2 separate regions of the Homo sapiens genome follow, and region 2 is linked to region 1. The links are contacts of gene promoters, found by promoter capture Hi-C in blood cells and fetal thymus (Javierre and others, 2016). All regions are on one chromosome and are shown on one strand. The core of a region is centred on a gene start or on the middle of the fragment in contact, and the rest is flanking DNA. Distances in the headings are between cores, read along the strand shown.

What was found. Contacts are between HindIII fragments. The CHiCAGO score rates a contact against its expected background, and 5 or more counts as called.
Region 2: a contact is called between a fragment that was not itself captured here and the fragment with the promoter of PROK1 in region 1, in 1 of 17 cell types (M2 macrophages). The highest score is 5.4, in M2 macrophages.

What each region holds. Positions count from the first base shown.
Region 1 is chr1:110,448,397-110,455,198 of GRCh38, reverse strand. It overlaps PROK1 (prokineticin 1), which reads right to left and starts at 4,050. Exons shown (of 3, transcript NM_032414.3): 1 at 3,911-4,050; 2 at 1,113-1,238. The coding sequence starts at 3,982. The HindIII fragment of the contact is 11,265 bases long and covers 3,471-6,802 here.
Region 2 is chr1:110,413,751-110,420,552 of GRCh38, reverse strand. LAMTOR5-AS1 (LAMTOR5 and SLC16A4 antisense RNA 1) reads right to left here. Exons shown (of 3, transcript NR_102697.1): 3 at 4,279-4,544. Among named protein-coding and RNA genes, the nearest start is that of LAMTOR5-AS1, 9.3 kb to the right of the region's middle. The HindIII fragment of the contact is 331 bases long and covers 3,659-3,989 here.

The sequences.
Region 1 (6,802 bases), core at 2,801-5,300:
CACCTGAGAGCCTGTGGAAATGCCCTAATTGCCTTCTAATATGTCAATGTCAGACTAGATTGAACCACCACCATTTGCATTTTAATGAAAAAGCTGTGGGAATTGGGAGCTTCACTGGTTAACTGGTAAAGTGTGGTAAAGTGGCTCCAGAGAGGGAGAGCAGCAGGGATGCTGTGGCTCCAGAGGACTCTGGACTGGGAGCTGGAGGTCAAGGAGTGGGAGCAAGGCAGGAGCTATGTACTTAGGCCACAAGAGAGAGTGACTTCTTAAAGTGGGCACCTCACTTGCCTCACTGTAGGCCTGACCAGGTGTGGAAGGCGATTTTGTGGGTCTACTTTTGTGTCCCTGAAGGGAAGTTCTTACAGAGCAAAGGGCATGTGAGATCCTTCCCAAATCTGAATTCATCAGATCCATAAGGGACATTAGAGGTAGTGAGTTTGCTCCACTCATCATATAAGTGTGGCCTGAGAGCAGGTGAGGTAGTTTGCCCAAGTCCACACAGCAAATTAGGGGCTGGGAATGCCCAGCTTGTTTAACAGCCTATAAGATCAGTGGCACCCCTCCACCTGAGGCTGCCCCCCAAAAACAAGGAGGCAGTGCCCAACATCAGTGAGGTATGACTAGAGGTGGCATCGGAAAACTGCAGTTCCAGTCCCAGCTCTGTCTCATTGGTTGTGTGCCTTGAGCAAGTCACATGACTTTGCTGTATGTCAGTTTCCTCAGCATTGCCCAGGGTTGCAGTGAGGATCAAATAAAGATCAGTGGTTCTCCAACCTGTGCTAGAAGTTTGTAGATGAATTATGTCAGGCCCTGTACAAATAAATGTACAAATGTGTCATCTGCAGGGCACTAAGTAAGGTGGATGCCTGTTGATGGCAGGGGCACAGCAACCCCATAGCCTTCTGCTTCCCCTTGGACATTCAGGGGCTGGATCAGGGCTGGATCAGCTATCAGAGGAGGGTGAAGTCCTCTGGAGCCACAGCCTCCCTAGACTGCCTCTCTGGAGCCAGCCTCTCTAGCCTTCCTAGCTAGAGCAAGGCCCCAGGACATCACCCTCTGCTCCCCGCATGGCCCACCCACATATGTGCACCTATGCAGTGTCTGCAGAGTACCTTGTGGCTGCCGGGGTGGCACTCCTCGCCTTCCCGCCCCAGCGGGGTGCACATCCGCAGCCCTCGAAGCCACAGGCTGATGGCACAGCAGGTGCCTGCCCCACACTGGACATCCCGCTCACAGGCCTGTAGGAGGGAGAGAGAAGGGAACAGTTCATTAGTGCACCCAAGAGAAAGCAGAAGGGAAGGGTAGATCCAAAAAGCCCTTATCAGGATGGAGCAAGAAGAGGCTGAGAGTATCACCCCCGGCCTTAGCCTAACAGAACACCCTGGGCCACACTTTATTGCCTTGCTCCCCTCGTGGGGAGGCTCAGGGCTCAGGGGGGCATTGGATCTGGATCTGAGGAAACTTCCAAGCTCCTGGAGGCCACTCAGAAGGAAGACAGTCCTCCTTTTCTGACAAGGCTGGAGGTTAGAAGGCATAGCTTTTCTAGGGCTAAGTAGATGCTCAGTGGATGCTGGTGGAATTGAATTAATTAGAATTCTCAGAGGTGGGAGGGACCCTGATGGCCCAAATTCCTTGGTGGTCAGTACTGAGCTGCCTTGGACCAGGAGTCTCCAGCCCTGACTCTGCACTGTGGTCAGTCCCTCCCCTCTGCATGGAGGCACCCCCATCCTGGCCCTCAAGTGGCCCAGCCTCAGCAGAGGGGCCAGCACCCCAGTGAACAGGTGCCTCTCCCAGGGTTTCTCTACTGACTTCCATGATTCCCAGAGAGGATCGCAGAACAGGAGCTGAGCGGCCCTGCCTGGTTTGGGGAAGGTACCATTTGTAAAGAAGGCCACATTAAATAAGCTCACATTTAACATGAGCCCACGTTAAATAAAAGCCAGAGCCGGGGAAGACAGAACTCTTAACTGCTCCAGACTCAGGTGGGGACCTGCTGAAGAAGCATCCACACTTGCCATTCTCAGAGATGCTATGTGGCTTTTCTGAGCTGAAATGCAAAGCTGGGTTTTGGATCACTCTTCTCCAATAAAAGCCTATGGGCACCTTCAGGCTGCTGTGTGGGACGTGGCAGGACCTGGAAGCCTCCTACTTGCTCAGACCCAAGAGGGAAAGAGTGGATGTCAGCTCCACAGATCATGCAGAGGAGTTACGGGTGGTGGGCACCCAGCTGTGCCTGTCTCCAGCCCAGCAAGGGCACGTCTCACACCCAGCCAGGCCACAAAAGCTTGGGGTTGGGGTAAAGGAAACCCCAGTCGACTCTTCTTCTCCCATAGAGGTGGGGCATCACTGTCCCACTCTTGGAAGAAGGATCATAAAGCCTTGGATGTGGGGACAGTTACAGTCCAGGGAGCAGGGGAGTGTAGAGGTGGTGGAGCCTGGGCTCCTGCTGAAAATCAGAAGTGGGACACCAGCAGGACATGGAGGATGTGGGGAGCCTGGGGGTTCCTGACTTCCCCTTACTGCCCTGTTCTCACCACTCACCTGTCTTTCCTGGGTTTCCCTCACCTAGGGAAAAGTGCTCTCTATTGTGCTTTTCACCGTGAAAATGTTTGCCTGCCGCTCTCAGATCTGCCTGCCCTGCTGTCACTCTGGGCCAGTGCTGGAGCTGGCACGGGTGGTGAGGCAAGCCTGGCATCCAGGCCAACCACGCTGCTCCTGCCCTCACCGCGCAGCAGCCGGGGCTTCTCTCCATTGTTCTTGCCCTCCCAGATTTTCAAGCTACCCCATAGAAGGGCAGCCTACAGTGTAAACACTTCATTAGGTATAATTCTGCCTTCACAATTATTTTTATTTTTGCTTTGGATCTCAAAAGCATTTGACTCGCCTTTAATATTTGTTCTTTTGAACTCAGTGTTTTTCCTTTAAAAGAGAAAAGAAAGAATTTGTCCTTTCTGTGAATGGTAAAATTAACCCAATTCCAGGAATTGTTTGGCATTTCTCTACATTTCCACTATCCATGTAAAAAGCTGGTGGAGGCTGAACTAAAAGTTAGTTTCCCTGCTTCCCCGACCTTTTTCTTCCAGTGGATTTTATATGGAAAGCTCTCAGGTACAGCATTGCTTTCTGCTTCAGTAAGAATGGTCCTGCTACCATAACACATCATGTGCCCCTATTTGAAGGTGGTTTGAGGTAAAAGCAAACTTCCGAGAGAAAACCATGATCTGAATATTTTGAACCAATTGTACAGTGCCCATATGCTGAACCTTTGCTTCTCTGCTTCGAGACTGGATATCTACTTGTTATCTGGATGCTTGCTTTGGGGTACACTCAGCTGAATGTTAGTGGCACCCATATTCCTCTCAGAACTAACTAGGCAGGCACAGAGTGAAAGAGTTTCAAAGATATCCTTTCTAAGCGGAGGTTAAGTTTATACAATAGAAGTTTATAAGCTTACCACCTTTAATTAAGCTTACTGCCTTTAATTAAGTCAACATGCTATGTAAATTAATATTAATATTAATATGTGAATCAGACCATAAATAAAAATTAAAATTCACACAAAAGATAAGTTAAGGTTTGCCAATCCACTTTATAAAGGAATTCCTTATTACTTAATAGGAATCTTCACTTTACCAAAGGACTGAACTTCAAAATGTTCAATGCTCTGCTAACACATTGAAAACAGGATTTGATTCATACACAGCTTCTCAAAAGCAGATCCCATTTAGTAGAGTGAGGTCTAACTAGTCTGAAAATCGCATGCAATCCCTTTAATGCATAATTCCCCATTCCCTTTGGTTCACACTGTGTTGAGCCAACAGAGCCTCCTGCATGGTTCCTGGGCTCACAACCCGTGCAGACCCTGACATCTTCCCAAAACCCAAGGCACAGAGAATGTTAGGCGACTTACCCCTGTGATCACAGCACAGTCAGACACAGTTACTAGGAGGAGCATGATTGAGACTCGCGTGGCACCTCTCATGGTCACTTGGGGTGAAGGCAAAACACTGCCTGCTTAGATGCCTCTCGCTTCCTCCCGCTCAGCCTTGTGCCTGGCAAGCTGGGGAGGCCAGGCTCTCCTGCATCCCCCGCCTCCTCCCAGATGTTTACACTCAGGATCCAGGGCTGCCTGTGGATGCCTCATCTCTGCTCTTCCCTTCTCCAACACCGATGTTACTCAGATGATCTCAGAAGCGAAGATGAGACCTGAATCTCTAACAACATCAAATCAACATCAAAACCAATAAAAATGGATACTTGGGGGGCTTTGACGGTTGCTCTAACTCTCCCAAGAACGCAGTGATTCAGACAGTTATGTATATTTCACTCAATGTTCTTTTCTGCCTCTGGGTATCCTTCTATCCTACTTGGGGCAGAGGAAAGCCTCTGGTAATGAATTAAGGGATTTGCAACATCACCATTTATGCTTCCCTGCACCAAACTATGCAACATACAAGATTATTGGTTCCCTCTCACTCACACCAAGACTTATCTAGGCATTTACCATGGGCTCAACACAGAGGTAGCTGAGAAGACAGAAGAGGGTGAGGTGGTATCCTTATTTCTCTAAAAGGTTAAAATTATAGTGAGGAGCCATAAGACAGTGAGGAAAAAAAGACCAGACTTGTGGGGCTGATGTTCCTAAGTGACACACACATAAGGATTTGCTCTCTCATGGGCTCAGGATGAACACCAGCAAGTGTCCCTTGGTACAATGACCCAAGGGCAGAAAGCCAGCAAACATACAGGGCACACACTCTCTCAGTACCCTGCAGAGCCGAGCTGGTATGGGCTGTGGCTGAAAGGTACCAGAGCCACACCACTGGCCTTCCAGTTTTAGGGGTGAGCATGAGAGTGGCCTTATCCGTGAGTGTATAAACACGGTGGTCTCAGATGCCAGTCTGGTGGGAAGTTGACTTTCGGGATGGCCCCTCCGCCTGTGAGGGAAGCCCCTGACCCCAGCCCTCTCTGTGTCATACGACCCAGAGAGAGCTCCCAGTGCTTTGTCAGATGATCTGCCTTCTCTCCACAGTAATAAAAGCCAACATTTCCCAAGGTATGTGTTGCAATATGTTAATACACAAATAAACAAATAAAAGACTTCTACAGTCAAAAATTTGGGAAACACAAACCGGCTTGTTTTTTGCAGAACTTTTCAGGGCCTTTCATATGCTAATAAGTGTTTGAAACACCAAGTGGGAAATGCAGTTTGTAGTATTTCACAAGCAGATTCATCCACAAAACCTTTCTTATCAAATGTCACAGGGGTCTAGGGTTTCCACATTGAAACGCTGATAGGCATTTATGAGTGCAGAGAGGAAGGTTAACTAGCACGGGAGCTGGGAGCTAAGCCCCCAGAGGCAGATGCTTTGATTCAGATCGATGGCTTCATGACCTTGAAAATATTGCTAATCTCTCCAAGCCTCAGTTTTCCTATCTATAACATGGGATAAGAATAGCATTTACATCATACGATTTTGCGAGTATTCATCTATTTATTTATTCATTGACTATATTTATTGAGAGCCTACTGTATAGAAGACACTGTTCTTGGCACTGGGAATATAGCAGTGAACAAAACAAAACCCTGTCCTCATGTAATTTTGACTATAGTCAAGGAGACGGGTAATAGACAAATAAACAGATTTGTAATAAAATGGCCAGTTGTGTTGAGCACTGTTAAAAAGGAAGGCCAGGCGCAGTGGCTCATGCTTGTAATCCCAGCACTTAGAAGGTAGAGGCAGGCGGATCACTTGAGGTCAGGAGTTCGAGACCAGCCTGGTCAACATGGTGAAACCCCATCTCTAGTAAAAATATAAAAATTAGCCAGCTGTGGTGGCTCACGCCTGTAATCCCAGCTACTCGGGAGGCTGAGGCAAGAGAATCACTTGAACCTGGGAGGCAGAGGTTGCAGTGAGCCGAGATCGCGCCACTGCACTCCAGCCTGGGCAACAAAACGAGACTCCATCTCAAAAAATAAAAAAAAGGTGGTGGGGAGAAAGGCAGGGAAAGCAACAGACCTTGACAAGTGGTGATATTTTAGATGTGGTAAGGGTCTGTCTGAGAAGGCACTTGTGCAGATGACTGATAAAGTGAAGGAGTGAGCTGGACAGAGCCTGGATGAAAAGTCAGTGCAACAACCCTGTGGCAGGGCTTTTTGGCCAGTTCCAGGAGAAGCAAAGAGTGAGGTGAGCCAGGGGACGGGATGGGAGGGGATGCAGTTGGAGCAGGAGCCAAAGACCAAATCCAGCCTGCCTTGTGGGACATGGCAGGAACCTGACTCCAAGTGTGATGGGAACCCTTGGAGAGTTTGGAGCAGGGGAGAGGCAGGATCTGGTATACACTTGGATTTTTTTTAGAGACAAGGTCTTGCTCTGTTAGCCAGGTTGAAGTGTGATTATAGCTCACTGCAGCCTGGAACTCCTGGGCTCAAGCGATGCTCCTGCCTCAGCCTCCAGAGTAGCTAGGACTGTAGACACACACCACCGCACCTGGCCTGATTCACACCTTGAAAGGATCCCTCTGACTGCAGATGGAGAGTTAAGTGAGGTGATGCATATGAAGTGCTTACCACAATGCCTGGCACACAGCAGCATTTGCTACCAATGGCCAGTTTTTTCTATAAACATATGAACTTGTATGCCTTAATATAAAATTCTCCTGGGAGGTGAGAATCAAAATAATGAGTCTGTAAGGCCCACCTGTACACTGTGACACTGGGCCGGGCTGGTGACAGAAGAATCAAGAGACCATCCGAGCCTTGGAGGACCTTCTGCTCTGGGAGAAAAGCTACCTAGGGAGG
Region 2 (6,802 bases), core at 2,575-5,074, 34 kb after region 1:
AGCCATCTCTGTCCGATCCAGAGTATTATTAATTGGGAAGCTTGTTTCTGGCCGCAGAGGCTGAAATCTGCAGCCCTGGAGTGACCTTTGCTTTGGCCGCCAAGTGTCCCTGGCTGAGGCTGGCAGCAAAGCCCTCTCTTGTGGTTCTTTACTGTAGAAGGTTCTTCTGTCCCTGGCTGAAGCAAGGAGTCAGAACTGAACACTGACACATGCATTCTGAGCATCTCAGGTGTGCACATTCCTTCTTGGGTTTTTTGAAGTCACATTGTTGTGGTCCCCAGGCCTTCCTAACCCATGACAGTGGCATTTTCTGAGACTCTCAGCAGCCAGGGCAGCCTGCACTGTGGCTGGACACGCTGGATGTCCCGGTTTCCAAGGGCCCAGAGCCCATCACTGTCCTCCACCGGAAATTCACACATGGAAGTAACTGAGAGGCACCTCGGCTCACTGAGCCCCACTTGCTGGCAAGACCCACGGCCTTCAGCTTCAGCACCCCCTCCACCCTTCCTTGAGCCTCAGCTCTCCAGACACCCTGTCTGAGGCCCCCACTCATTCCAGCCCCTCAGCTGTGGTTCAGCCTCTACAACCCGTAAAAGGCACATCCTCTTGGGGTCAGCAGGGCTCTCTAAGGTGCTGACCAAGGATGGAGTGAAGCAGGGCTGTCTAGGTGGCTTTCCAGGCTGACTGATCTACGTGTACTGCGTGTGACTGACGGCAGGCCAAGCGTTGGCTGGACTGCATCTGATTTCATTCTTCACTAGCTGGGTAACCTTGGGCAAGTCAACCTCTATACACCTCAGTTTCCACATCTGTACAAAGGTTCTAATAATAACACTTACCTCATTTAACAATTAAGGCTTCTGGATAGTAAATATAAAACATGGAGTACAGAGCCTGGCAATAATTAATCCTCAACAAATGTTAACTATTTCTTGAGGGGCAGGAGGTGGATTCTGTCCTGTTTGTGTGAGTGTGTATATATAACATAAAGTCTCGGGGAAAGGAAAAGTGGAAAAAGGGCCAGAGAACTTGCTGTTCATTTCCCCAGACATTGTCTTTGCTGATCAATGTTTTTACCAACTCATAAAGGAGGTTAGTCCTCATTTCATATTCCCTTGTCCAGAGAGTGATAAACTGTCATCTCCTTAAAGTAATCTATGCTGCTTTCGAATCAGCTCTTCTCCACCTTGACAGATGGGATTAGATTCATCTCACTTCCCCTTTGGCAATTGAAAATATCAATGAGATATTAGTGTGCTTGCCTCTGACTTTCTCCTGGGGCAAAATACTGATGGTCCAGAATGAATGTGGCAGTTGATTTACTGTGTGGTGTCTGAAGGCACACAGACAAGTCCTCCTGTTGATGAGGGGAAATGGGGAGAAGGGAACCCCTAGCCACTTTATGGGACTGGCTCACAGGCCTGTGTTGTTCAAACTAGTTGAGGAGACACAATTGCAGAGGAGCCGACTCACCTGGGCCAACTCACTCAACATTGCCTGGGAGAATGGTCAGCCCCAGTATTAGAGACCCAAGACAATGAAAATTTTCAAGTTCTATGACCTTGACCAGTTAGTTGACCTCTCCAGACCTCAGTTACTTCATTCACAAAATGGGGATAGAGTCATGGAATGACTGTGAGATTAAATGAGATAATGTCCATGAAAGTTGTCAGAATCAAAATGGAATCACTAACAAGAAACCCCTGATAAATAGAGCTAGGGAAGGCCCTGAAGAGAGCATTCTCATGCTTGTATGCCTGGTAACAAAAGCTATCACAAAAGATTGCAAAAGCCACAACCTCCTACAAAAGCCATTACAACCTTACACAAAAAAGACTTCTGCAAAGACATCTGCCCAGCAACTGCCTGTCCAACCTTGGACTCGCATCACCCTTGTTATTGATCTTTATAGCCAAGGATAATTATTTCAAAACAATTATGTAATTCTCCACATTTTTTCTGTTAAAAACCTTTGTCTTCCTCTACCTCCCTGAATACATGCATTACTAAGGCAGGCATATTCCTATGCAATGCTCTATTCCCAAATAAATATTCTTTTCTTTTATAGAGACTCTCTTTGTTTGTTATTTAGGTTGACAATGGATCTGCTTTGTAAATGTTGATTTTTCATCTTTAAGTACCAGAGTAAATGCAATGTTCTTGAATGAGATACTGACCAAACTTACAGATATTAAACTGAGGCGTGGAGAGAGGTGGCATCCATAGCAGTCAAGTAAATCAGAAAGTGCTGCCTTTGCTGCTGTTGACCGTTGTGATTACCCCAGTTTCTGCTGCCTCCTTGGGAGCTGGAATAATGCACAGGTGAAGGGTTGGAGAGGGTAAGTTTCCTATGAGATTTCCAAAGGGAATTTCTTCACTAATGAAACAATCATTCACTGAACACCTATGAGCCAGATGCTTTTCTAGGCACCATGAAGGGTAAAGACAAGACACTGAAGTTTTAAAAAGGCCCTGATTCTGGCTGGGCATGGTGGCTCACGCCTGTAATCCTAGCACTTTGGGAGGCTAAGTCGGGCAGAGCACCTGAGGTCGGGAGTTCGAGACCAGCTTGACCAACATGGAGAAACCCCGTCTCTAAAAATACAAAAAAGTTAACTGGGTGTGGTGGCGCATGCCTGTAATCCCAGCTACTCGGGAGGCTGAGGCAGGAGAATCGCTTGAACCTGGGAGGCAGAGGTTGCGGTGAGCCGAGATTGTGCCATTGCACTCCAGCCTGGGCAACAAGAGCGAAACTCCATCTCAAAAAAAAAAAAGAAAGAAAGAAAGAAAAGAAAAAGGCCTTAATTCTGAGGTTTGGTGCTTCACTATTCATCCTCCTCCCTCTCCCTCTCCCTTTCTCCCAACCAGGAGAGCTCTGTCCCTGAAAGGAATGGGGAGAGACAGATGCCTACTCTATTCAAGTCCTCTCCTAGAATTTGGTGCCTGTCAGCCAGCCGTGGTGGCTCATATCTGTAATCCCAGAAGTTTGGGAGGCCGAAGCAGGAGGATTGCTTGAAGCCAGGAGTTTGAGACCAGCCTGGGCAACAGAGTGAGATCCCCATCTCTACAAAGAAAATAAAAAAATTCAAAAGAATGTGTTTCCTGGAAACAGTAGTGCAGGCCCCAATCTCCGGGCAGGGTCATGCGTGGAAGCTGTTATTGGTAATGATCGTTGGTCTGAAAAGTTTCTCTTACCCAAAGTTCAAGTTGAGTTTTTTTTTTTTTCATTATCTCTAGCTTATTAACTATATAGAGCACAAACTCCTTCAGTGAGGAAGCCCTGTCTGAATTATTATTGCTATCTGCATAGAATTTGGCAAAGTAGGGGTAAGGGATCCATAAAGAAATGGAACTGTGGATCTACAGTGAGACTCTGAGATGCTTTATGATGACCCTTATCTCTAGGAGCACAAAGTACAATGATCAACACTCCCAAATTCCATATTAGTCTAGGCTCATGCAGGAGAGAAGGTAGAATGCACCTCTCCCGTTTGTCAAGGAGTGGAATGCTGCCCAGTAAAGTTGTTTGGAGACATTGTGGAAGAGGCTGTGGTGTCAATCCCTCCAGAGGGATTCTTGCTTTGCATGAGGCAGAACTCAGGTAGGACATTCACACTCAGAGGTGTCCTACTCAGTCTAAGCTTCTAGTGACAAAGCTTCTAATCACACATGAGGAAAATGCCCCTGCTGGTCTCACACTCTGGGAGCAAGAGTTCTCCCTCATGCAAAGCAAGAATCCTTCTGGATGCTTTCATGCTGCTCACCCGCTTTTGAATGGCTTTGCTATGTGTGGGCCACTTTCAAGACAGTTACATAGAGCAGAGCATTTTCTCTCCAGCCTCCTTTACAACTAAAGCCAGGTATGTGATCCAGGCTCCATCACTGCTGGGAAGGGCAGCAGTAGAGGCATCTGGCTTCAGGGGAAGCAGTGATTGCAGGATTACGTTCCTCCTGCAGAGGGGCATTTTCCTCATGTATGATTTGAAGCTTTGTCACTAGAACTTAGACTGAGCTCTCTAGTCCTCCCAGTTCCACAAGCTACCCAATGTCATTTTAATTAACTTCCTTTCCTATTCTTTAAACCAGCGTCAGCTTCTGTTGCTTGCAGCTAAGAATGCTGAATGCAGTCTAATCCACATTTGCCTCAGCTGTCATTTCTTGAGATCCTAATGACAACAGCTTTCATTTGTTCAGTGCTTACAATGGTGCCTGGAACTGTGCTAGGAGCTTTATATTGCATTGTCTCATGAAATTCTCATAATGACACTGCAAGGTAAGTACTGTTTCTAGTGAATTTATCTTCCCATTTATAGTGGGGGAAAACCGAGGTATCAAGGCATCAGAGGATTTGTCCACAGGCTTACAAGAGGGTACTAAAGTGTTGTGACAGTAGACCAGTTCTTGGATTCCAAGGGGAATGTGGGAGTCCGGAAGAAATCTTTGCGCTCTGCTCTCCATGCTGGGGGGTGCAGAACTCTAAGCAGGTCATTTTGTCTCCATGACATTCTCTTCTCTGAGGTAAGAATCAGTAACACCCATCTAATCTGGAGATGGTGAAATAAAGACAAAAATATTTTACTGTCCAAGAAGGATTTTTCCAGGACAACAGCAGAGGTAGTTGACAATGGTACATATTGTTACCCCACAAAGAGGGTCTCTGAAACCCACTGGGGAACATGGGGTGGAAATGGATGCAGAGCAAAAGAAGCTGCAAGCCTGAGTTTGACTAAAACCCTCAGTGCACAGGCCTGCATCACAAATACGTTTTAATACAGGTAATTTCTTTTCCATTCATTTGTAAGCACTTATTTCATTTACCCAATTCCAAGGCCAATAAATCTTGGCATTAAGGCTGATTTGATGTGTATGCTGACAGTCTAATTAAGGATAGGGTATTTTATCAGCTCCTCTAAATTTTCATTTCTCTGGTCTATGATTTTTTTATACTGGGTTGATCTTTTTTTTATTCATAAGGGCTTCATTCCCATTTGTCATGGCTGCATTAACTGGGCATCTAATGAAGACTTGGATATGAAAGTCTGCATCTCATTTATCCTCTGTAGCAAAATTAATAAAGCAGCAGGAAAACAGTTTCCTGTACTGGAACTTCTTTAGCCCATCCTGAGTCATATAAAATGTATTTTGCTTGTGTTTTCCAGAATTTGGGCTCAGCTCTAAACTTTAGGAGATGGTGTCCAACTTCAACTTCCATCCACTGACAGGCCTTACATACCCTGCTTCCTGCCCCACCTATTGCTTGGAGATCGAGTAATCAAGTGAAAATGAGGTCTTTCAGGTGGGACTCTTCTGCTTGAAGAGGCTTGAACTGGAATGGCTGGGAGCTGATTTTCCCACTCATCCCCTCTACCCACATTTATTGAGCTTCTTCTACAGGTCAAGCTCAGAGACATAAAAGACTCAAGAAGGTCACAGTCAAATTAAGTTATGACACCAATGTTGGCCAATGTCCAGTGAAAGAAAAATATCTTGGCCAAAGATCAAGGTTGGGAGCAAGCTGGAAAGATCATTTGCTCTATCCTTTTGCCTCGGGGAGGGTGACCCTCCCAGCCAGTGCTTGAATGAAGGGCTGCCAAAAGTCTGTGATATTTTTGACTTGCAGACTTTATGGGTATACGAACAGATATATCCACAAAGGTTTCCTAGGGCTGCCATAACAAACTGGGTGGCCTAACCAACATGAATTTATTGTCTCACAGTGCCAGAGGGTAGCAGTCCAAAATCAAGGTGTCAGTGAGGTTGCTTCCTTCTGAGGGCTGTTAGGGAAGGATCTGTTCCAGGCCTTGGCTATAGATGACTATCTGTTCTTTATGTCTCTTCACACCATCTTCCCTCTATGTACATCTGTGTCCAAATTTCCCCTTTTTATGAGGACACCAGCCATACTGGACTAAGGCCCACCCTAACAACCTCATTTTCACCTGATTACCTCTGTAAAGGTCCTATCTCCAAATATGGTCACATTCTGAGGTACTGGGGGTTAGAACTTTGACATATGAATTTTGGGGAGACATAATTCAACCCATAACAATGAGTATCTCTGAAGCTGGTTGAACTAAAGCTCTAAGACAGCCTCTTGTAGTACAGTATAGTTAGAACACCAGAAAGAAAGTTAAGAATCCGAAGTTAAAGGTCCAAATTAGTCCCTTCCCCTCTCTGAGCCTCAGATTTCTTCTCTGTACAATAAGAGATCTGGACTGGGCCTGCTAAATCCCCTCACAGTTCTCGGGTTGTGTGGTTGATGAAGTGATAGAAATTGAAGCAGTGTCGTGGGGAAGTTAATGGTCAGGCTCCACCACTTACAAGCACAGTGATCTTCAGCAAATATTTATCTTCTGAGCCTCAGGGTTTTGTGTTTTTGTTGTTGTTGTTGTTGTTTTTAACTGTAAAAGGGGGATAGTGATGTTAGCTACTTCAAAAATGCTGTGAGGACCGAGAGACCCTTTGAATTGCCTGGCACGCTGTTGTCACTCCATGTATATGAACTGCTGATGATATTACTACCAATCGCTATTAGGAGTTAGGCTTTGAATCTATGGCTCAGCTCTCAGATGGTGTCCACTATTAGAAGGCAGGGCTGTGTCCCCAACCTGTTCTGCATCTGGGTCCTGTGCTGCAGCATGAATGCAGTAAGATGCTTTTGCCAGCAAGACTCTAGTGATCCTTGTGACAGGCCTGTCCCCATTTCCACCTTATGCAAATTCTACCCTATTCCATTCTAGCCCAGCTCCTTCACATTCATATTAGGGTTAGGACTAGAGTTTCAGGTGACTTTTTTTCTTGC